7 separate regions of the Homo sapiens genome follow, and all the other regions are linked to region 6. Evidence: promoter capture Hi-C in 16 types of primary human blood cells and fetal thymus (Javierre and others, 2016). All regions are on one chromosome and are shown on one strand. Each heading gives the region's core, a stretch centred on a gene start or on the middle of the fragment in contact. The rest is flanking DNA. Distances are from core to core; before and after follow the strand shown.

Region 1 (3,516 bases), core at 597-3,096, 540 kb after region 6:
GTGCCTATAATCCCAGCTACTTGGGAGGCTGAGGTGGGAGAATCGCTTGAACCCAGGAGGCGGAGTTTGCAGTGAGCCGAGATTGCGCCATTGCATTCCAGCCCGGGTAACAGAGCAAAAACTCTGTCAAAAAAAAAAAAAAAGAGAGACATGACGTGCTACTGTGAGAAATCCTGGTGTCTTAGTCTGTTCTGTCTATAATAAAGTACCATAGAGTGGGTCTAGCCATCTTTCTTTTTTGTGATGTTAGCAGCCAGTAATGCTCAAAGCTGAGATCTAGTCAACCCTTGTAAGTTCTATTTGTTCATTCTAACTCTAATTTCATCACTCCTTTAGGATTATCTGGAATGCTTCTATAAAGAGCCACTTTGCTCATCTGCAAGTTGGATAGCCAGGGATCCAAGGTAAATCTGAACTTTGGGCAACTCATGGCCAATGTGGGCATTTGTGGTTTGCCTCTGGTCTACACTGGATATGGCTGCTACAGTTTACGGCATGTACTTGAGAGGTCCAGCATGTCATGCCTGGGGCTCCTGGGTTTGGTGGGATCTCTGGGGGCTTTCATGGCAGGCTTCTGTTTCCTGTGATTTCCCAGCACTGATTGGGACCCTGTGAACAGAGTTCTATAGACTCTGTTCCCTACTGAAGCAGCAGCAGGAGCCTGGGGGCAAGGTTCCAGGCATGTTAGTTTCCTAGCGCCACTGTAACAAAGGACCACAAACTGATGGCTTAAACCTACACAAATGGATTCTCTCACAGTTCTGGAGGCCAGAAGCCTGGAATGCAGGTGTGAGGCAGGGCCACTCTCTCTCCGAAGGCTCCAGGGTAGAATCTGTTCCATGCCTCTCTCCCAGCTTCTGGTGCTTGCCAGAAATCCTTGGCATTCGTTGCCTTGTGGCCTCATTACTCCAATCTCTGCCTCCATTTTTACATGACCCTGGTGTCTGCGTTCCTTCTGCCCTCCCTTATGATATGACACCAGTCATATTAGATTAAAGGCCCACCCTACTCCAGTATGACCTCATCTTAAGTAACTGCATCTACAAATACCCCATTTCCAAATAAAGCCACATCCACATGTACCCAGGGCTAGGCCCTCAGCGTATCCTTTTTTTGGGTGGGGGAGCACAATTCAACCCCCAGCACCAGGGACCCAAGAGAGTCAAGAGCAGTGGAGGTTCTTCCTGCCAACGGGGTCATGCTGACCTCGGGGAAGTACCTGGGCTGGCAGAGAAGGCTTGGGCAGCAAGTAGTTTGATTTGCAGGGACAGAGTCCCATTCTCAAAAACAATCTCCTCTGCTGTCACTGAAAATTGTTGTTTCTTTGGAATTTTCAAAGGTCACCTGACTAGAAGTGAAAGGTATGGACAGAGCCGGCTTCAAAGGCTGCTGCCTGTGCAATTGTACAGGGTACTGTGCTCCAAAGGGCTTGTGCTTATTGTAGTGGTCCACTGTTACCATCTGGAAATTCTTGAGATTTTTTTTTTTTTGGAACAAGGGGTCCTGCGTTTTCATTTTGCACTGCAAAACGTAGAGCACAAACTATGTAGCTGACCCTGGGTTGGGACATCAGGCAGGGGAGACGCATAGTAAGCTAAGGCAAAAATCAAGCTCTGTTACAGTGTGGTTGGCCTGCAGCTGGCTTCTTCTCCATTTCTACTTCTGGGCCAGGGAAGTTGAACTGTATATTACTGTGCAAGCCTAAAGCTGAGTCACAAACAGATCCAGGCTCTTCAATGTGCTTATCATGCAGAGCAAGTGTGAAAGTGGCTTGTGATTACACTTTGCTCAGGGATTGCCATAGGGCTTGGCACCTCTTAAATGATAAATAAACCCCTCTTGATTATGAGGTGAAGTAAGGCAAATACTACCCAGATGGCTCTGTGAATCGATATTGTAAAGTAAGTTTTTGTAGATGCCTACACCCCCACACCATCCTCTTCCATGGGGTGTAATATGATGCTTCTTAAACTAACAGCCCTGGGGTGGACATTTCAATGAGTTCCCCCGTGATGCTGCCGCTGCTGGTCCACGAGCCACACTGTGAGCAGAAAGAGTCCTAGAAACAGGCCAGGTGCAGTGGCTCACGCCTGGAATCCCAGCACATTGGGAGGCCAAGGTGGGCAGATCTCTTGAGTCCAGGAGTTTGAGACCAGCCTGGGCAACATAGTGAGACCCCATTTCTACAAAAAGTTAGAATATTAGCCGAGCATGGTGGCTTGTGCCTGTGGTCTCAGCTACTCTGGAAGCTGAGCGGGGAGGATTGCTTGAGCCCGGGAGATTGAGGCTGCAGTGAGCCATGTTTGCGTCACTGCACTCCAGCCTAGGTGACAAAGTGAGACACTACCTGAAAAAAAAAAGAGAGAGAAAGAAAGAAAGAGTCATAGAAACAAAGAACAACTAGTTATAAAGTCAGGAGGTGTGATGGTTAATTTCATGTGTCAACTTGACTGGGCCACTGGGCCACGGGGTGCCCAGATATTTGGTCAAACATTACTCTGGTTGTGTGTGTGTAAGGGTGTTTCTGGATGACATCCACATTTGAATTGTAGACTGCCTTCTCAGTGTCGGTGGGCCTTGCCCAATCAGTTGAAGGCCTGGCTGGACCACAAAGGCTGGGTAGGAGGGTGCTCTTGCTGTGTGACTGCTTGAGCTGGAATGTTGGGCTTTTCCTGCCTCTGGACTCAAACTGAAACATTGGCTCCTCTTGGATCTCAAGCCTGCTCACTTTCAGACTGGAACTGACACCATCAGCTCTCCTGGTTTTCAGGTTGTCAGACTTGGACTGGAACTGTGCCATCATCAGCTCTCCAGCTTGCCAACTGCAGATCCTGGGATTTGTCAGCCTCCATAATTCCATGAGCCAATTCTTTATGATAAATATCTCTCTCTGTCTGCCTCTTTCTCTCTCTCTCTCTCTCTCTCTCTCTGTGTGTGTGTGTGTGTGTGTGAGAGAGAGAGAGAGAGAGAGAGAGAGAGTTTGGATATATATATATTGGAGCTATTTGTCTATACATCCCTGATGAATACAGGAGGTCAGATGGGATAGCTGGGCTTTAGTCTTAGGGCTGATGCATTTTAGCACTGGCCAGGTCATACCAGGCTAGTTACTTACATTCTCTGAGCCTTGTTTTCCCACTATAAAGTTTGGGCAGTATAAATGTTCTCATAAATTACACATTTGAGCCCAGGAGTTTGAGACAAGCCTGGGCAACATAGTGAGACTCCTTTTCTACAAATATATATATAAACCGGGTGTGGTGGTGCATGCCCGTAGTCCCAGCTACTCAGGAGACTGAGGTGGGAGAATCACTTGAGCCTGGGAGTTGGAGGCTGCAGAGAGCCGTGATCGCAGCACTGCACTCCAGCCTGGATAACAGAGTGAGGCCCTGTCTCAAAAAAATAATAACAATACATTATACATATCTCATAGGGTTTTTTTGACCTCAGCACTGGTGTCATTTGGGGCAGATCATTCTCTGGTGCTGGGCTGTTGTGGGCACTGCAGGATGTGTG
Region 2 (3,110 bases), core at 10-2,509, 570 kb before region 6:
AGAAAGATGGAAACAGGGGTCAGAGAGAGAGAAAGAGAAGTTTGACAATGTCACACTGCAAGCTTTAAATATGGAGGAAGGGGCCACAAGCCAAGGAATGCAGGTGGTGTTTCAAATCTGGAAAAGGCAAAAACACAGATTCTCCTCTGGAGCATCCAGAAGGAATGCAGCCCCTCAACTCTACCATGGCCCATTTTGTGCCCTGACCTCTAGAACTCTGAGATAATATACTGAGTTGTTCTAAGACACAAAGTTTATGAAAATTTATTACAGCAGCATTAAGAAACTAATATTCTGAGACTTGTAAAAATCAGTATCTGGGACCAACCTTCAGTAATTCCAATTCACAACTTCTTCCACCAATCAAATTTTATATTTCACAAATTTGTCAATTACCAGGGGTACAACAAAAACTGAGTCACAGCTCCTCTCCAAGGACCTTACAGTCTGAAGGAAAAGAGAGTTTTCTCAAAATAAAACATACCTCTTTCCTGATTAAGAAGCTTAACAACCACCCACAAATAGTGTCTATTCATAGACTCATGGTGTGATCTGTAACCCTTTGCTAAACAAAGAAATTGCATTCATTTTGCTTTATGTAAGTCAGCTTGCCTAAGGAGATAAGTTGTCAGTGGACCTCAAATTTTTTTTTTGCCATCTTTCACATTTCTTCTGAACAGTTGCCCCTGAGAACCCAGATGGTATTTTATCTTCATGTCCACCCAAATCTAAAAGTTGTGGGGTTAGGATGATAATCACTTTTGCAATGTTGGGTGGTTAGCCACATTCTGGAACACCATCCTGTCAGGCTGAAAGCTCACTAGGATTTGGAGTCGATGAGTACATGCTCAAGAAGGTGGTAGTTCTCTCTGCGGGGCAGCTGAATCTCTAGGTACAATTGCATGTTGAGACCTACAGACTGGTCCATAATGGGACACTGAGTTGGAATCCTTTTCTATCCACCAGTCTTCTCCAAAGAACAAGACAGCCAGATTCTCCCTACATTTCTTTAAAACTCTGACCCTCCCACATTGATCTACAATGCGTTAACTGAGGAATACAATTCAATAACTGCCATGTTGATTACATTTTGTTCTTGATCTTTCAACCCCCCTAGCAGCCCCATCCTTTTTCATGTGACTTTTCCCATTACCAGTGAGTCAATTTCCCTGCTGCATTGATGCTGGGCTTGGCAACTGTATTAGTTTCCTCATTGCTGCTGTAACAAACTATCACAACTTAGTGATTTTAAATAACACTAACTTATTATTTTATAGTTCTGGAGGTTAGAAGTCCACGAATGGTTCTTTCAGGGCTAAAGTCAGGATGTTTTGTTCCTCCTGGAGTGTCTAGGGAAGAATCAGTTCCTTGCTGTTCAGATTTTAGTGGCTGCCCTCATTACTTGGTTCATGCCCCAGCCCCAACACTGGCATTACTCTGACCTCTGCTTCCACGATTATATCTCCTTCTCACTCTGATCCTCCTGCCCATTTAGGTAATCCAGAATAATCTCCCATCTCAAGTCCTTAACCTAATCACATCTGCAAAGTCCCTTTTGCCATGTAAGGTAACATATTAATTAACAGCTGCTGGGAATTGAAACAGATCTATCACTGGGGGACCATTATTCTGCCCACACAGCAAAGTTACTTGCTTTGGTCAGAGAAGCAAAGGCAGAGGTTATGGTTTGCTAGTCAAGTCCAGGCCTGAAAAGACAACACATGTTTCCACTCATCTCTCCTATGGTTTTGTCATTACCATGAGAAGAACCCATTCTAGATAGCTTGCTGTACTAAGGAAGATGAGAGGCACATAAAGTAGACCTGATTCCAACCTACAGCTCCAGCCAGGCCAAACCCAATCAGCCATGCCCAGGTGACCTTGAGTCAACCAATACACAGATGCCTGATAGAGAAGAAAAAAAGGGTTTGTTGATTTATTAAAATAAACTTTTGGACATTTTGTTATGTGGCAATATCGTGGTAATGACTAGCTGATACAGCTGTACTTGGTTTAAAGCTTGAAGTAAAAAGTATCAGGCTGTGTGAGGCTTCCAGGACATGTGTGTCTATTGCCCTGACACAGTGAAGAATTACAATTATGCTTGAAGTTTTGCTCTGACATCTGTTAAATCTACACATAACACTTACTGCACATCCTACTCTCTTGGACATTGGTGGACCCAGTTATATGTTAAGAATTTCCAAAGATTTTGAAAGAACATATTCTAATCTGAGCTTCTTCCAGGAACTTAGATATTTCCTCAAACATGACTCCAAAGAAAATTTAATTCAACTCCATTACACAGACTTTACTCATCTTGTTACAGATATGAAATGGTCAATAATACAGGTCCGATTAAAATGACAGTGACATGTCTGTCCAATTTTCTTCTTGGACTGGGTTGTAATAATAACTGATGAAAATTCCCAATATGCTCATTGACAACATGTTTTCCTGTGCCATATGTATCTCAGTGACGTTAATTGATGATGGTGGTATGAATTTGATATCACTAGATATTGCAGATATGAGTAAAATACCTGTTTTACAAAACTGCCTGCATTTGGAAGATGTGGTTGAGGAAGGAGTTTGAAGACTTAAGATTAAGATGACACTCGCTCTTGACATACAGGGACAGTCCCAGTTTCAAATATTCCATTCAGCATTTCAGATCACTTGACAGCCAACAAGATCTGATTTGAGGATCAAAATATAAAGGGAAGGTGCTTTGATGGCTCTTAGCAGATTTTTAACCATTTATTATCCACTCCAGGAGGCAAACAACTGACTTTATTTCCCCTCAAAAAAATCCGTAAAATGTTTTAAGGTGTTTTCCATACAGAGACAATCCAGAAAGGGACTAACTCTAAAATATGCACATTTTTCTGAAAGTTGGATATAATTTTTACTTGCAAAAGAACATTCAACACATAAATGGAAAATATTCAATATAAAAATATCAGCTTCTTTAGAATTGTAATTTTAATTGCTAAGATGAATGTTGAAGCTGATTTAGCACCAGAATCATAATTGACCATAAATTTTCTCTTGCTTTTATAACCATTCCTGCAAGATTGAATTTTTTTCAGAGCTGAAGTGAAGCATCC
Region 3 (3,306 bases), core at 799-3,298, 560 kb after region 6:
AATTTGTTACAGCATCGGTAGGAAACTAACACCCCCACATGCATTGTTATCTCAGTGAGAATGGAAGCATCTGGTCAGCTTGGTGTCTGCATAACAAACACAGCAGCGGCTGACATTTATTACATGCTTAGGCAGGTACTGTGCGAAGCATTTTACATCTTTTTTCTCTCCCTGGCTTCTCACAATACCCCCAGAGGGTCCTCGTTTCTTGTGCAAGCATGGAGAGTCACTCACATTGGGACTCGCATCAGATGTGCTGTACCAAAAACATATTTGATGAGCTAGCTAAATGTGGGGGTGGGGAGAGGTAGGCTTTCTGAGAGAAGAGGCCAGTTGGAAACTAGTGGAGGTTTTCTCAGGTGATCACAGGCCTGAGCTAGAGCGATCAGGGGCACTCGGGCTAGAAAAGGCAGGGATTGTGTCAGAGACATTGTGAAGGAAACATGGTGTAGAGGACTTAGCTAATGCTTGAATGAAGGCAGGTGAAATCAGGAGGGCTGCTGAGGAATCTTACTGGCACCTAAGGAGGAGCCGGGACTCACTGGGGCCAACCGAAAATCCTTCTATTAACCCCACTCAGAAGCTTTCATTGGTGGTGGTGGTTTTGTGTGTTCAGTAACTCCGTTACATAGAGAAACATGTTAAGCTGTTCAAGTTACTGTATTGCTGATGGGCAGTGTCCTAAAAGGTGTCCAAACCAAGAAAGTGTTATTTTTGTTTTATTTTATTTTTGGAGACAGGGTCTTGCTCCGTTGCCCAGGCTGTGTAGTGCAGTGGCATGATTATAGCTCACTACAGCCTCCAGCTCCTGGGCTCAAGCAATCCTGAACGTGTTACTTTAGACCAGGGTTTCTCAACTCTGGTCTAAAGTAACCCTGGCGGTGGGGTAATTCCTTGTTGTTAGGGCTGTCATATGTAGCATATGACGTTTAGTAGCGTCCCTGGTCTGTTACCACTAGATTGAGATATTAGTAGCAAACTCCCCACCCTCAGATGTCTCGAAAATGTCTCCAGACATTACCAAATGGCCCCCGGGGCGGGCAGTATCCCTTGGCTGAGAACTGTCTGAGCTACCTCCATCCACCTGGTTACAATGCTTCATCTTTAGCTGCTGAATTTGTTTCAAGCCTGTTGTCAGTTCCTGAGATACTATGCAACAGAGACCTGATTTCTGTGTTTCCATGAACAAATTTCAAACATATTTATGTGAAAAACCCTGAACCAGTATATGAAACTGGGAACATATATTACTATGAGTGTATTCTTCAATTCTTAGAATACTCTCAATTGATAGGCATTTACTGACTGTCAAGAGTATACATATATGCAGTGAAACAGAAGAAAATGCATCTGTTCACACTGGTGTTCTGCAGCAACCTGGAGAGCTGGCCTGGCCTTTTGAATGTGTGTGTGTGTATGTGTGTGCGCGTTTGTGTGTGGAGGGAGAGATCAGGCTGCCTAAGATGCTCCGAGCCATTCAGTGCCCCGAGCCATTCGGTTCTCCCTTTGGTTCGGAGGAAGGAGGGGTGAGAGGAGTGGAGTGCTTCTGCCTTTGCTCAGAAATTCTACAAATACAGAGCAAGGACATCTCGAAAGGCCGCTTATGGAGCTGTGGGATCTCCAGCATTTTTCATCTGGAGGGTTCTCTTTTCATTTCTTTAAAACTGAAGGGACTGAGAGAGAGCATGGGGAGGAGGGAGGGATGTTGATGTTGAGAATGAACGGGGGAGATGGCTGCACCAAGCCTGGGATCACCAGCCCCACAGTGGCAGTGGGTGGATCTTTGAGGCAGGCGGAGGTGCCCCAAGTAGCTCCTCTGCCCGAGGCTCCGTGCTCCAGGAAAGAGGGCATCTACCAGCTTGGGTATGGTGTTTCCAGGCGGCCCGGAGCTCGGCCAGGAGACCACATAGTCACTGCAGGAGACTTGTTCTTTCTGCCACTTAGAGCTCTGTCCTGTGGACGGGTGCCTGTCCCCAGCATGGGGGAGGCCTTGGAGTATGGGGTCAACTAGATTTACCTTAAACATTATTTCCATTTTTAAAAAATTGAGATACTATAAAATTTACCTTGGGCACGGTGGCTCATGCCTGTAATCCTAGCACTTTGGGAGGCTGAGGCGGGCGGATCACTTGAGGTCAGGAGTTTGCAACCAGCCTGGCCAACGTGGTGAAACCCTGTCCCTACTAAAAAAACAAGAAAAATTAGCTGGGCATGGTGGTGGGCACCTGTAACCCCAGCTATTCGGAAGGCTGAGGCAGGAGAATCACTTGAACCCGGGAGGTGGAGGCTGCAGTGAGCTGAGATCGCACCACTGCACTCCAGCCTGGGCGACAGAGTGAAACTCCATCTCAAAAAAATGAAAAATAAATAAAAATAAATAAAAGTGTACAATTTAGTGGGTTTTGTTATATTCACTAGATTGTGCAACCGTCACCCCTATGTAGTTCTGAATACTCCATAAAGAAACGCTGTGTTCATTAGCAGTCAGCCCCCATACCCCCAGCCCCTGGCAACCGCTAATCTGCTTTTCATCCCTATAGATTTGCCTATTCGGGACATTTCACAGGGACCTCCCTGTATATTTCTTTGCAACTTCCTATGAATCTGTAATTATTCCAAAATAAAAAGTGAAAAAGAGATTGAGAATGAAGGAACCAAGCAGAGATCTAGTTATTTATAATTGAAAAATAAATTTAAATAATCTCATTTAGATTTTATTGTGTTTTGTCTATATAGTACTTAGCATATAGTAGGCCCTCAATAAATGTTTGCTGAATGAAATTATGCATGTAGAGACAGGTTTTATTGATTTATAATGATCATTCTGTATTGCTGTATTTCACTGACTTTTCCTCATGTACACTATTCTGATGTTCTCAAGAGCAGTCCCTCCTTGTAAGCTGTCAGAGCACCCATTTTATTGGGGTGGCCACACCTTCTCTCGGCTCTGGAGTTACGACCTTGTCTGTACTTCCTGGTGATGTCCTGATTGCCCTAAGCCAGTGGGTCTCAACTGAGGATTCCCTCTTCCTTCTCCCTACACCCAGAGCATTCGGAAACATTTGGAGAGATTTTTGATTGTTAACACCTGGGGGTAGGTTCTGCTGGCATCCAGTGGGTAGAGGTCAAGGATGGTGCTGAACATCCTACAATGCACAGGATCGACCCCACCACAGCAATGAATGATCCAGCCCCTAATATCAATAGTGCCTGAGATTGCTCTAAGCCAATCATACAGCATCCGGGCCTGCAATTGGCTGAGGCAGGAGCACATGACTCAGACCTGGTCAATGAGCTGTGAGGGGA
Region 4 (3,069 bases), core at 6-2,505, 530 kb before region 6:
AATATCTTATTACATGTTTTTAATGTAAAAGAGAAAAGGCTAACTGAAACAATGGTAACATCAACAGAGAAGGGAGATTAGGGGATTGGCTGATAAGAAAATGCTAAAAAGCTTTAATGCCATGTTAAGTAACACTTTCTCTAATTGTAATTTCTCCTACACAGAAATTGCAAACCTGTGTTCTACCATGTCCAACTTGAGTCACCCCTTCTGTTTTTTTGTTTTGTTTTGTTTCTGTTTTTTAGAAGGAGTCTCACTCTGTCACAAGGCCAGAGTGCAGTGGTGCGATCTGGGCGCACTGCAATCTCCGCCTCCCAGGTTCAAGTGATTCTCCTGACTCAGTCTCCTGAGCAGCTGGGACTACAGGAGCATGCCACCACGCTCAGCTAATTTTCTTTTCTTTCCTTTCTTTTTTTTTTTTTTTTTTTTTTGAGACAGAGTCTCGCCTTGTTGCCCAGGCTGGAGTGCAATGGTGCAATCTCAGCTCACTGCAACCTCTGCCTCCCAAGTTCAAGCGATTCTCCTGCCTCAGCCTCCCGAGTAGCTGAGATTACAGGTGAGCACCACCACACCCAGCTAATTTTTTGTATCTTTGGTGGAGACGGTGTTTCACCATGTTGGCCAGGTTAGTCTCGAACTCCTGACCTCATGATCCACCCGCCTCGGCCTCCAAAACTGCTGGGATTACAGACGTGAGCCACCGCACCCTGCCAATTTTTGTATTTTTAGTAGAGACAGGGTTTCACTATGTTGGCCAGGATGGTCTCCATCTCTTGACCTCGAGATCTGCCTGCCTGCCTTGGCCTCCCAAAGTGCTGGGACTACAGACGTTAGCCACCGCGCCTGGCCGAGTCACCCCTTCTAACTTAGCAAACTGAACCCAGGGCCCTGGAGAAGGAGATACAGAACTTCTCTCTTCCCCCACTCAGGCCTTTGACAAACACCAGCCCTTCCACTTACCCCTGGTATCAGAGCCATTGGCCAATTTACACAGAAATTATTAATAGCCCCAAATATCAGAAAGGTAACCACAAAAAGTCCTTTTCTAAGTGAAACGCATTTGGAACCTCCCATCAAATGAGGATGGCTTGTTGGCAGATGACAACACCAAGAGCCCCTTTGAGGGGACGGTTCATCCAGGCTGGTGTTCTGTACTCATTATAGGACGTAAAGAGTGATAGGGAAGAGCTGGATTTGACAAAGCCAGTGGCCAAGCACAGGGGTTCCCCTGAGCAGCCACCTTGGGGACAATGATTGGGCAAGTGGGGATGAGGTAAAAGGCTATAAGTTGGAGACCTAAAACTGTGGATTGGAACCTCTTCCCTGAGCCCAGACAGTGATCCGTCTTCCTGCAGAGACACTGAGGAAAGGTCACCTGCGTTAACCAGCAAAAGCGCATCAGGTGCACTGGTGCCAGGTCTCGGCAGCAACCCCATGAGGAAGCAACAGCAGCCCAAAGGTTTCTACAGCCTTGGGTCTGTGAAGCATTCAGAAAAATGACTGAAATCTATGGCTTCTCCCTGAAACCTAGCATGTCATTATCTACTCGGAAGGATATGCTGTAAGCATCCTCTGTGCACATGTGAATGCCATCAGTCCAGGGAATTTACAGCCTCACCTGTTCAGTTTTCCTTTTTTGGCTATCTGGTCACTCTCAACAAAAATAATAGCAAAAATGGTTGAGATGCCATTACCAAATGGCACCTATTTTCATTAATAGACAAAATCCTTTGGAAGCCACTTAATGTTTGTCTGCAAATATTAGCTCTGCCACCCTGGCTTAAGATGCTTGAGAAGGCTGAGCTGTGCTAACACAATTAATTTGCTGAGTATATACATCCTCATCAGCAGGAGAAAGGTAAGTCCCAGGCCAGCCAGAGATTGCATTAAAAATTTCCAATGAGTGGGTTTTACAGCAATGAGTATTGAACATGGTCAATTGCTTTTTTCTCTTCCAATGCCACTGATGTTAACTAATTCATAGTCAATGTGCTATTCCCTGTGCCCCTGTTGACAATACAACCCTTGTGTAATCCCTTAACATAATGAGATTACTGCCTTGTTAGGAAATGGAGCAGTTTGCAGTTGAGTTTCTGGGTCTGGCCACAGTTAGGAGGCTGGGAAAGTTGTAGGACACAGTCATGTATGAATGCTTTCTCTCCTGCTCAAGGCTCTGTCCATGATATCATGTAAAGTTGGGGTCTCCCTACCTCTGGTTCCTCCCATCCTCTTTAATGTCTCCCCTAAATGTTTGTTATCTCTACTATCAAATTTGCACTTCGAGTCTTTGTCTTTGTGCAGAGGTCTATGTGCTGTTCTGTGGCCTAGAACATAACAATTTCTACATGTTGAGAGTTTACTCCTCCCATAATTCCATCTCTAAAGCCACGACCTCCATGCAAGCTTTTCTGATACCCTGAATCCCAGGATTCTTTACATGGCCTTCTAATGATATTTATAAACTTCTCTTTTGCTATGTATTTGTTTTTTGTATTGAAATTCCATTTCTCCAATTCCATTTAAGAGCAGAGAATGAATCTTCTTTGTGATTCTAAATTCACTTTTTTTTAGTTCTGATTCATATGGTTTTTAATTACAATGTAATTTTTAAACTATTTGGGCTGTTGAGCCCTACAAGGAAGTCTTTTGAATTATTATCTTTAGAAAATGGACATACTATTTAGAAGTTTTTCTGTTTTCTGTCCAAATGATAACTAGTTCTAAGTAATGGCAGTTCTTAATGCTGTATATATACATATATTTTTGGTGGGGGTGTTGAAAATTTTTTTTTTAATTCTTATACTTTAAGTTCTGGGATACATGTGCAAAACATGCAGGTTTGTCACATAGGTATACACGTGCCATGGTGGTTTGCTGCACCCACCAACCCATCATCTACATTAGGTATTTCTCCTAATGCTATCCCTCCCCTAACCCCCAACCCCCCTACAGGCCCCAGTGTGTGATGTTCCCCTCCCTGTGTCCATGTGTTCTCACTGTTCACCTCCTACTTACGAGTGACAACATGCGGTGTTTGGCTTTCTGTTCCTGTGTAGTTTGCTGAGAATG
Region 5 (3,244 bases), core at 392-2,891, 520 kb after region 6:
CACGCACGTGAGGACACGAGCCACCTGGAGTTTGGCAGCCAGGTTCTTTGGGCTGGCACACACTGGCACCTGTGTCTCGAGTCACACATGCTTCCCAAAGGCCCAGCATGTACTTCTCACTCTCGAGTAAACCCGAGGAGAAAGTCGGCCACTGAGGCATGCACACACAGGCCACTGAGGCATGCACTTGGCAGGCCACTGAGGCATGCCAGGGAACAGACGCGGCCAGCCACAGAGGCCAAGAGCCCCACATTTTGAATCAGCCAGATCGCCCTGCTTTTCATCCTGCTCTCCAGGCCCAAGTTATTCTGGGGAAACTGTCTCTCGGTCACAACAGGACTGGCTCGTTAGATTGACATCTTGACGGATTCGCCGCAGTTCGTGCCAGCTGGTCTGCAACCATTAGTTCAGTCCTTTGTCAACCAACCAGAATGCAGCTGCTTATTAAATCGGGTTACTTGGTAACTGGGCTGCTATTGTTCACCCTTAACTAACGCAGATGAATACCTACCATCAAAATAGGCCCAATAGAAAACCTGCTGCCAATACAGAGCCAGGTGGGAGAACCAGCAGATTGAGACAGGTATGCAGGCTTGGGAGAATTCTTGCTGGTTATAAAAGGCATGCATTTTAGCAATTTTATTTCCAAAAGGTAAACAGTTTGGGATACGGAGTTATTAGACATTAGAGTCATCTATCACGGTTTGTTTTTTTTTTTCCTTTTCTTTTTTTCTTTGAGACAGAGTCTCGCTCTGTCACCCAGGCTGGATTGCAGTGGTGCCATCTCGGCTCACTGCAATCTCTGCCTCCTGGGTTCAAGCAACTCTCCCTGCCTCAGCCTCCCGAATAGCTTGGATTACAGGCACACACCACCACACCCGGCTATTTTTTGTATTTTTAATAGAGATTGGGTTCAGCCATGTTGGCCAGGCTGGTCTTGAACTTCTGACCTCAGGTGATCCGCCTGCCTCGGCCTCCCAAAGTGCTGGGATTACAGGCATGAGCCACTGCGCCTGGCCTGATCAAGTTTTTAAAAAGAGTATTTCTTCACTTTTAATTATTTTAAATTCTCTTTAGTATTGTCTCTTCCAGGGTTTGGTATCTGTATCTGGTTCCATCATTCCTAAACCTACCTTCAGAGAAAACATCTAATTAATTACCCACACCTTCCATTAAAACCAGAGATTGGGATCATTTTGAATTAGAAGAGACAGACCCTTATGATCCCACAATTGTGTTCCTTGGTTTTTATCCAAATGAGCTGAGAATTCACGTCCACAGAAAAACCTGCGCACAGATGATTATAGCAGCTTTACTCATAATTGCCAAAACTTGGAAGTAACAAAGATGTCCTTTGGTAGATGAGTGGATAAACAATGTGATACATTAAGACAATTGGATATTTTTCAGCACAAAAAGAAATGAGCTATCAAGCCATGACAAGACATGGAGGAACCCTAAATGCATATTTCCCAGTGAAAGAAGCCCATCTGAAAGGCTACGGACGGTAAGAGTTCAACAGTGTGACCCTCTGGAAACGGCAAAACTATGGAGACAGTAAAACAATCGGTGGTTTCCAGGGGCTAGAGAAGAAGGAAAGATGAAGAGGGGATTGCAGAGGATTTTTAGGGCAGTGAAACTATCTGTATGCTACCATAATGATGAACACATATCATTGTACGTTTGTCCAAATCCATAGAATGTACAACACCAAGGATGAACCCTAATGTCAACTATGGATTCTGGTGACGATGACATGTTGATGAAAGTGCCCTGAGGGATTGTTCACAGACCTACACCAGGAAAAGAAGTTTCTGCTCATGAATGCCACTCTGGCTCTCAACCTGTGCATGAGTGAGATCCCCACAGACGGGAGCTCACAGTTCTCTTTCTGCCCCCATTAACCTGGAAGGAATCTGGCCTCAAGAGGTGGGCAAGATTGGATCAGGCACCAGAGGCCTTGGCGGTCATTCTTGTCAGGCAGCCTTGCCAAGCTGGAGGCAGAGGCTGGTGACAGGTGGGACAGCAATTCCAAGGAGAGGTGGTGATGGCCCAAATCAGGGGCATGGCAGAGCCGTGGGGAGAGAGGAAGAGAGATGGAGGGGCAGCAGTGCCGGGATGTGGGGGTTACTGGGAAACAGAGGACAAGCAAATGCGGTGACCGGAGGGGACACCTGCACTTCTCCGTTGGGCAACTTCCCGTGCTCACGGAGGCCTCTCATGTTGTTCGTAAGCTACTGAGGCAGTGTGTGACGAGATGCTGAAACCTTGGCTGGTAAATGCACTTCAGGCCTTCAACTTCCTGGCTACTACAGCCGAGGTGGGGTTTGGGTAGCTGTGAGTAAGCCAGATGCGACGGACCGTGTAGTGATAGAGTCCTCACTGAAAGGTCCAGAAGAAATCCCATAAGGTCATCAAACCCAGGCTCTGAATGGAGTTCCACTAGGACACAGTGGGCCCGTGGATGGTAACTGTCACATCCACAAGGCTATTCCTTGTGGCACAATCTTCGTCATAGGATCATTGAAACAGCTGAACTTGGTGGGAAGAAATCGGGAAACAGCTTTTGTTTTCCTACCACTACCTTGCAAACACGATGTGGATGAACCTTGAAAACATGATGTCGAGTGAAAAAAGTCAGACACAAAAGGCCACAAATTGTACAATTCCATTTATATGAAATGTCCAGAGTAGAGAAATTCATAGAAACAGAAAGTAGATGAATGGTGGGCAGGGGCTGGGAAGAGGGGAATGGGGAGTGACTGCTCATGGGCACAGGGGTCGTTTTAGGAGGGACAAAAATGTTCTGAAATTGATGGTGACAATGGTCGCACAACCTTGTGAATGTACTAAAAACCACTGCATTGTATGCTTTACACAGGCGAGTTGTACAGTATGTGGATTATACCTCAGTAAAACTGGTATATATATATATATATATAAAGAGAGAAAGAGCGAGAGAGTTCCACATTAATTTCCGATAAGCACCCTTTGTAAACTAAAAAAACAAAAGACACTTCATTCAATGCTGTCTATCTTAAACGAACACTTAAATATATCTTTAACGATGAAGGATTAGTACAGTTTTTTCTAACCTTGGAGTGGTGGGGGCCATTTCAGGATCGCCTGTGGGGCCTTGTTCAAATCCACCCTCCCCCCAGCAAAGCACCCCCTTCACTGACCCTGGTCTTCCCACACTTGTGAATCACTACATTAGAAGAATTCCCTGAAAATAGGGAACCAG
Region 6 (3,114 bases), core at 489-2,988:
TCTGCACAAGCCCAGGGAGCCCAGGAGCAACGAAGGGCAGGCTCAAGGGAAGGCCCCACCATGTCCTTCTGGGGGGCCTTGAATGGCAACTGATACATAATAAGACACAATCTATTCTGCTGATTCACAATTATGGAGACTGTGTAAGTGTGTATTTTTTTATTGATGTCCTCTAATGATGGTGTAGCAACAGTCGTTTTGCATCATTGACGTTTTACAGCAATATTTTGCAGGGTAATTTTGAGGTCCGCCGTTTTGGTGGAGGACCGGCCTCTTAAAAACTCACCTCCGGCCGGGCACGGTGGCTCACGCCTGTAATCCCAGCACTTTGGGAGGCCGAGGCCGGCGGATTGCCTGAGGTCAGGAGTTCAGACCAGTCTGGCCAATATGGTGAAACCCCGTCTCTACTAAAAATACAAAAAAAATTAGCTGGGCGTGGTGGCATGCGCCTGTAATCCCAGCTACTCGGGAGGCTGAGGCAGGGGAATTGCTTGAACCAGGGTGGTGGAGGTTGCAATGAGCCGACAGCGCGCCACTGCACTCCAGCTTGGGCGACAGAGCGAGACTCCTCAGAAAAACAAAAACAAAAACAAAAAAACAAAAACCTCACCTTAGGTCCCCCTCCCCCTACAACCAGAACAACAAATGGTCTAGAGTTCGAGGAAGAGCAAGTGAGGTTATAGTTTAGATTGCTGAGTGTACCGGGCTCTTAGCACGAAGCTCATTATATAGTAAAGGAAGGGGCAAGAATATTTGAAAAATATTCAACGAGGCTGACCCCAGAGGTGCTGGGGAGGGGGAGTGGAGATCTGTTTAACTGAATTAAGGCTGCGAGTGGTTGGGAGTAGCCTACGTGGAGGGGAGGAAGGAGCGCTGGGGACTTAGGTACACCGGGGCCAGGCCGTGTAAGCCATTGCAACATAAAGCACTTTGCAAGGGCCAGAGGGCTGATGCCTGGGGGGTTGGGGTGGGAGTGATGAGGCCCGAGTGCCCAGGTCCCCCCAACCTCCTCAGCCCCCACACCCGAGTTCCTGGCGCCTATGCCTGTGTGTCTGAGTTTGTCCCTAAGCATTTCTGGCTCTTCTTGGGAGGTGTTTTGCAAAGGTCGAGGCTCCGCCGGAACCCCCACTTTTTGAGCTGGGGTAAAGACTACTGGGGTGTCTTCTAAGACGCCGATTTTGAGGGAGATTCACCATCGGGCAGGTGGCAGGGGGTTCTGTTGGGGCAGCCGGGTGGCTTCCTTTTTGGGGTGGGGGAGGGTAACACTTTAGCAGTGATCGAGGTTCCCCTGCCCCCTAGAAACTGAGGGGGTGGCCGAGGTTCCCGTCCCCTCGAGGCAGTCGTGGAAAGGCTGGGTTTGGGATGTGATGGGGGTAGCCCTGGGGTCCTCTCAGTCCCACGGAGGCCACGGGGAAGGGACCGGGACCAGAGCAACTAGGGAGAGGCCCGGGTTCCCCTCACCCACCCTAGGCGTGGGGGAGCGGGGCGGGCTTGGTAGGGACGCTGGTCCCCCGACCGTGGGACAGGGGCTGGGTTGGGACGCGGGTCCCCACTAGGAGCCGCGGGGGAGGGGCAGGGCCGGAGTCCCTACCCTCGTAGGGGAGGGGCTGGTTCGGGACGCGGCTCCCCCGGGGCGCAGGGGCGGGGCCGGGTGGTACGCCGGGTCCCCTCCCACGGCCGTGAGGGAGGGGCCGGCGGCGGGGGCGGACCCCTGGCGGTCCTCCTGGCTGGGGTCCGCGCGCTCGCGGCAGCTCCCCGTGGAGGTCACTGTCCGTGCCAGTCCCTCCCGCTGTCCCGCCCTCTCCCGCTGCCGCCGCCGCCGCCGCCGCGCCCGCCTCAGCGCCCCCACTCCGCGCTTGGGAGCGAGGAGCCGCCAGCGCCCCCGCCCCGCCGCCGCCGCAGCGCCCTCAGGCCGCCATTCGCCACCGAAACTTTCCAGCGCCCGCGCTCTCTCCGGGACTCGGCGGCGGCGGGGCGGGGGCGGCCCGGGGGCGGCGCGCGGCTGCTCCGGGGCGCCGGGCCCTCTTCGGCCGCCGCACGGCCGGGACTCGGAGGCTGCCGGCTGGAGGGAGGTTCGGAGCGCGGCCGGGCGCGCGGCGCCGCCACAAGTTGCGCTGCTCGCGACGAGGTGAGTGCGCAGGGCTCGGCGGGCCGGGCGCGGGGTCCGCAAACTTCTGCGGGGAGGCGGGTCCCGCGCTGACCCTCCAGGGTCCGGCCGGCGGCTCGGGGCGCCCGAACGCTCCACCCGCCCCTGGAACTCCTGTAGGTGCAGGTCGCCAACTGTCCCCGCGGCGCTCGGACTGGGGTGCGGCGCGCTCCCAGGAGCCTGAACAATACCCCGAGGTGGCCGCTCCCCGAAGTGCCGGCGCGCCTTGCGGGGAGAGACGGAGGTCGGCGGGGGGCTCCTTTGTTTTGGGGAGGGGGAAGTGGCCGGTAAGTTTAGGGAAGCGCTCGGCTTTTCCTCCGGTGCCCCTTTGTCTGCCGATTCAGGGGCTTGCTGGGCAAACCTGCGCCACCGCGGGCTCCGGGGACCGGGGTGGAGGGCGGTGGCGGGATTTCCCCGCTGTTGGGGAGAAGAGCCCCATTCATACCCGGGACGCGGGCCGGCCCTCCCGGACCCGGGTGGAAGCGCAGCCTCGCGGAGTGGGGCAAGCGGCGGGCGAGGTGGCGCGGGCCCCGTGTCTGCTCAGTTTCTGACGCGCAGAAACTGTCAAGGAAGTCGGGAGCCCCAGTCCTCCGCCCATCTCCCCGGCCTGAGCGCACGGCTGGGCTGGGGGCACCCTTGGCCCGTCGAGGGTCTGCAGAGCGCCGCCCGGGGAGAGCGCAGACCTGTTGCTGCTCCTGGGCTCTGACGGGGCGGGTGGGGTGGGTCTCGCAGATCCTGGGCCCCGGCCTTGCTATCCAGGGGGACCTTCCCTAACGATGGGACCGGTGCTCGGAGTGGAGTATGGGGAGTGCGCCTTCGGGAGTCGGCGCTGGCCGGATATGTGACAACTGTGGGTCGCTGGAGGCCCGCCTGCGCTGGGATAGGGCCTGGACTTCACGTGCGTCGCCTGTGTTCCGTCAGACCGGGGCCGGGGCTCGCTCCCTGCAAGGCCTCGTGTTCCCCCAGCC
Region 7 (3,474 bases), core at 330-2,829, 590 kb before region 6:
CACCCAGAAGAAAAAAATATTTTCCAGGATGCTCTCCAGAAGCAGAACAATTTGGCTATGTCTAAAGTTTTAACAAAAGTGACTACAAAAATGGAATGACTTGCATAATTTCTAAAGGGCATACTGTAAAAATTTTTCAGAGACTCTGATAAGATAAATATGGTGCCATCCTGGCAAGGTAGATGTTCCTGTATTAGATAAGAGGGTTAAGTTTTCTGGAAAAAAAAAGCAAAGGAATAATGAGATGCATTGATCTAAGATAACAACTCTATAGTATATAATGCAAGCAATTACACTGATTCCAAAGGTATTGTTTTGATGTGGATCTAAAAACAGATTCAAAATAAGGTTATATTATTTTTCTCAAATGAAGAGCAAATCAGCAAACTGCTTTATTAGAGTATCAGGAGAGGATGAGGAGGAGGAAAAGGAGAATAAGGAGGAGAGGAGGAAGAAGAAGAGGTGGAGGAGGATGTGGAGGAGGAGCAGGAAAGGAAGAGAAGAGGGGAGAAGGGAGGGGGAGAAAGAGAAGAGGAAGAAAATCATGACATCTCTAATCTTCTTTAATCTTCACAACTGCCCTATGAGGAATGAATTTTTGTCTCCATTTTATAGACAAGCAATTCTGTTCTTATAATTGCTCAACTTTGCACAGGCAAGGAAGCCAGAAAAGTTTTGAAAGCAACTCTCTCTGCCACAGGAAATGCGACATTTCACCCCCGCTCCTTACTGTATCTAGAGTAGCAGTCAGGCGGTTCTCACTCAGGAATTAGGTCCTGCTCCAGGACCATTATCCTTGGGAGTCATTTACCTGACTACTGATTATGAGTACCTGGAGGATCACTCTGCTTCAGTAACACAGCTGTCATCTTTCATCTGAAGAGTTTGTTAAAAAAAATAGTAAGTTGAAAAGAATAGAATTCACACTATAGAGTAGTTTCTGCAGATTTTATAAAGCAGATAAGAGAAGAAAATAAAATAATGTAGAAAAGTCCCACCAGAAGAAATCAATGCCAAGGAGAATCTAATGCACTGACTATGTGCAAAGATACTGGAGAGGGATGTTGAAGTTCCCTGGGGCTAGGATCTCTGGTAAACAGTTCCTATGTCCAGAGGTGAAGTGGCCATGGATAGAAGTGGTTACCAGATCCATGCAGCACCTGTGTCCCAAAGGCAGTCTCCTGCCTCCTGCCAATCTCCTCCTAGAAGCCAACAGGAAGTCAGCTAGCCAAGGCCCACAGATGTAGTCCACTGGAGTCACTTCCTGAGGGTACAGAGAGGATGGAGAAGGGTGGAGGCACATCTGGCAGGCTATGGAAATACAACCATGACCAGCTTGGCCTAACCTCCTTTACTGATTCTGTTGGGTTCTCTGATTTGCTCATATTCCATCTGGCTCTAAATGACTTTTGTCACTGGGGCTGCTACGCTCCTTGAAAGACCTAGTTGCTCATTCTGCTTACAGAGTCTCATAGTTCTACCTCACATACACAAGTTTCACCAGCACAACACCAAACACCTCCATCCTAATTACAGCAGATTCAGGAACTGAAGAAAGTCTGACAATTCTGAAAAACATATTTTAAAATATTCTATTTTGGCCTGTGAACTCAGCTACATAATTACTTCTGAAAATGCTGTGTTGGCACCGTGGTGGAAGGGAGTTTATATAATCCATTGGCTCTAGGCTGGAAAAGATATCTTTGAGGTTAGCGTTTTCTGAAAGACGCTCCCAAGATACTCAAAAGCAATTTCCTCTAGAGCTGTTCCCAGTCTCCCACTTTTCAATGTTCATATGGTTAGAGGAGATGAGTTAAAAGTCATCTGCCCACCAGTCTGCAGCATCACAGTTTAACTCTTCCATTCCCACACACCAGTGGGAGATCCAAGAGTTGCAGAGTGGGCTGAGCTGTCCAGTGGCGTCAGGCAGGTGCATTTGGAATGAGATCCCTTACCAAGCATCACACCTCCATAACAAAAGGTAACTTAGCAGTCTGGTCTTCCCTGTCACTTAGAAAGAAATATCTTTTGTCAATAGCTGGTGTTTTAAGAAACATTGGTGAAGAACTAATGTGGATTAATGATGGCTGCATAGTTTTGTATTATCATTATAGTTTTGAGTGACACTGTGCTCTAGGTGTGCTTTCTTCACAAACTGAAAAATTAAGAAGCAATGGAGAGGAGTGCATTACAAACATGCAGAGACTGCTATACTACAGCTATGCCATGCTTAATAAAGCAGGAAACTATCAGATAGGCATAGTCCTTTCTCTGTAAAATAAGCAGCATATCTGAGGACATGCTACTCTAACTCAAGGATTACATATGACCGAGGGCCCAGGCACTTTGTGCTCTACAGTCACGTCTGCACCAGACCTCTTGCAGCTGAATGCAGCAGGGGTGCTGGGTAAGCTGAATAATGCCTCCCTGCCAAGATATTCATATCCTAATCCCCAAAACCTAAGACTATGTTACCTTACACAACAAAGGGGCTTTGCAGATGTGATTAAGCAAAGGCTCTTATAATGGGAAGATGACCCTGGGTTGTCCGGGTGAGCCCAATGTCATCACAAGGGTCTTTGTGAAGAGAGGCAGAAGGGCGAGAATGAGAGATGAAGATGTGAGGATGAAAGCAGAGGCCAGAGAGAGACAGAGAAATGGGAAGACGCCATGCTACTGGCCTTGAAAATGGAACAAGGGAGCCAAGAAGTAAGGCATGCAGGCAGCCCCTAGAAATTAGAAAAGACAAGGGAATGGATTGTCCTCTAAATGTCTAGAAAGAACATAGCCCTTGATTGTAGCCCAGTGAGACCCATTCCAGACATCTGACCTCCAGAACGGTCAGATAATAAGTTTGTCTTGTTTTAAGCCACCAAGTGAGAGAATTCGTTATAGCAGCAGCAGGAGGCCAAGACAGATGTTTTTCTCAATCTCCCTTATTTTGCCCCTGTCTAAAATACCATGAGCCCCCTCCTCCTTTCCCTCTTCCTTAGATATTTCTTCCTGGCATAAAGCTCTATGAGCTGGCTCATCAAGCACAGTTCTTGAAATACTAAATATGTAAATAAGGAATTCAGAGTTTTTATTGTCTGGGTCACAAGGCTACTTTCTAGTTGCGAACCCCTAAAACCTAACATTACCCTGATACCACCCCTTTCCTTTCTTCTATAAGAGAATGAACCTTCACTCACACCATCATCCCTACCCAAACAGAGGATGCCCCTGAGAGAGCTACAGGAAAGACTGCTCAAAAATGAAAAAGAGAACCAAAGAGGAAAAAATGGAATATTTTTACAGTATAGTCCCTGTTACAAAACTACCACCTGCCATATATTATTGCTGTGTCAGTAGTAAATTAAAGTTTTTGTCCTTAAGGAGCTTATAGCTGAGGTCAGCACTTTGAAAACTTGAGTTCAGCAACAGAATCACAGGGAGAGCTTGTTAAATGGACAGATTATCAGGCGCCACTCCCAG

What was found. The method cuts DNA at HindIII sites, captures the fragments that hold promoters and counts their contacts. A CHiCAGO score of 5 or more calls a contact.
Region 1: a fragment that was not itself captured here is called in contact with the fragment with the promoter of TBL1X in region 6 in 2 of 17 cell types (activated CD4 T cells and non-activated CD4 T cells); the score reaches 8.4 in activated CD4 T cells.
Region 2: a fragment that was not itself captured here is called in contact with the fragment with the promoter of TBL1X in region 6 in 4 of 17 cell types (non-activated CD4 T cells, naive CD4 T cells, total CD4 T cells and 1 more); the score reaches 6.2 in non-activated CD4 T cells.
Region 3: a contact is called between a fragment that was not itself captured here and the fragment with the promoter of TBL1X in region 6, in 1 of 17 cell types (activated CD4 T cells). The highest score is 5.1, in activated CD4 T cells.
Region 4: a fragment that was not itself captured here is called in contact with the fragment with the promoter of TBL1X in region 6 in 4 of 17 cell types (activated CD4 T cells, non-activated CD4 T cells, naive B cells and 1 more); the score reaches 9.1 in activated CD4 T cells.
Region 5: a contact is called between a fragment that was not itself captured here and the fragment with the promoter of TBL1X in region 6, in 1 of 17 cell types (monocytes). The highest score is 5.7, in monocytes.
Region 7: a fragment that was not itself captured here is called in contact with the fragment with the promoter of TBL1X in region 6 in 4 of 17 cell types (M1 macrophages, non-activated CD4 T cells, M0 macrophages and 1 more); the score reaches 7.5 in M1 macrophages.

The regions. Positions count from the first base shown.
Region 1 is chrX:10,006,107-10,009,622 of GRCh38, forward strand. No RefSeq gene overlaps it. Among named protein-coding and RNA genes, the nearest start is that of WWC3, 7.4 kb to the right of the region's middle. The HindIII fragment of the contact is 6,322 bases long and covers 1-3,516 here.
Region 2 is chrX:8,892,033-8,895,142 of GRCh38, forward strand. No RefSeq gene overlaps it. Among named protein-coding and RNA genes, the nearest start is that of LINC03114, 34 kb to the right of the region's middle. The HindIII fragment of the contact is 1,516 bases long and covers 502-2,017 here.
Region 3 is chrX:10,023,012-10,026,317 of GRCh38, forward strand. All of the region lies in intron 2 of WWC3 (WWC family member 3), which reads left to right. Among named protein-coding and RNA genes, the nearest start is that of WWC3, 9.4 kb to the left of the region's middle. The HindIII fragment of the contact is 2,935 bases long and covers 582-3,306 here.
Region 4 is chrX:8,929,382-8,932,450 of GRCh38, forward strand. No RefSeq gene overlaps it. Among named protein-coding and RNA genes, the nearest start is that of LINC03114, 3.7 kb to the left of the region's middle. The HindIII fragment of the contact is 2,292 bases long and covers 110-2,401 here.
Region 5 is chrX:9,983,674-9,986,917 of GRCh38, forward strand. No RefSeq gene overlaps it. Among named protein-coding and RNA genes, the nearest start is that of CLDN34, 18 kb to the left of the region's middle. The HindIII fragment of the contact is 4,245 bases long and covers 1-3,244 here.
Region 6 is chrX:9,463,320-9,466,433 of GRCh38, forward strand. It overlaps TBL1X (transducin beta like 1 X-linked), which reads left to right and starts at 1,739. Exons shown (of 18, transcript NM_005647.4): 1 at 1,739-2,128. RefSeq lists enhancers at 339-1,167, 995-1,194 and silencers at 1,425-2,004, 2,125-2,264, 2,565-2,714. The HindIII fragment of the contact is 11,363 bases long and covers 1-3,114 here.
Region 7 is chrX:8,869,919-8,873,392 of GRCh38, forward strand. No RefSeq gene overlaps it. Among named protein-coding and RNA genes, the nearest start is that of LINC03114, 56 kb to the right of the region's middle. The HindIII fragment of the contact is 3,918 bases long and covers 1-3,474 here.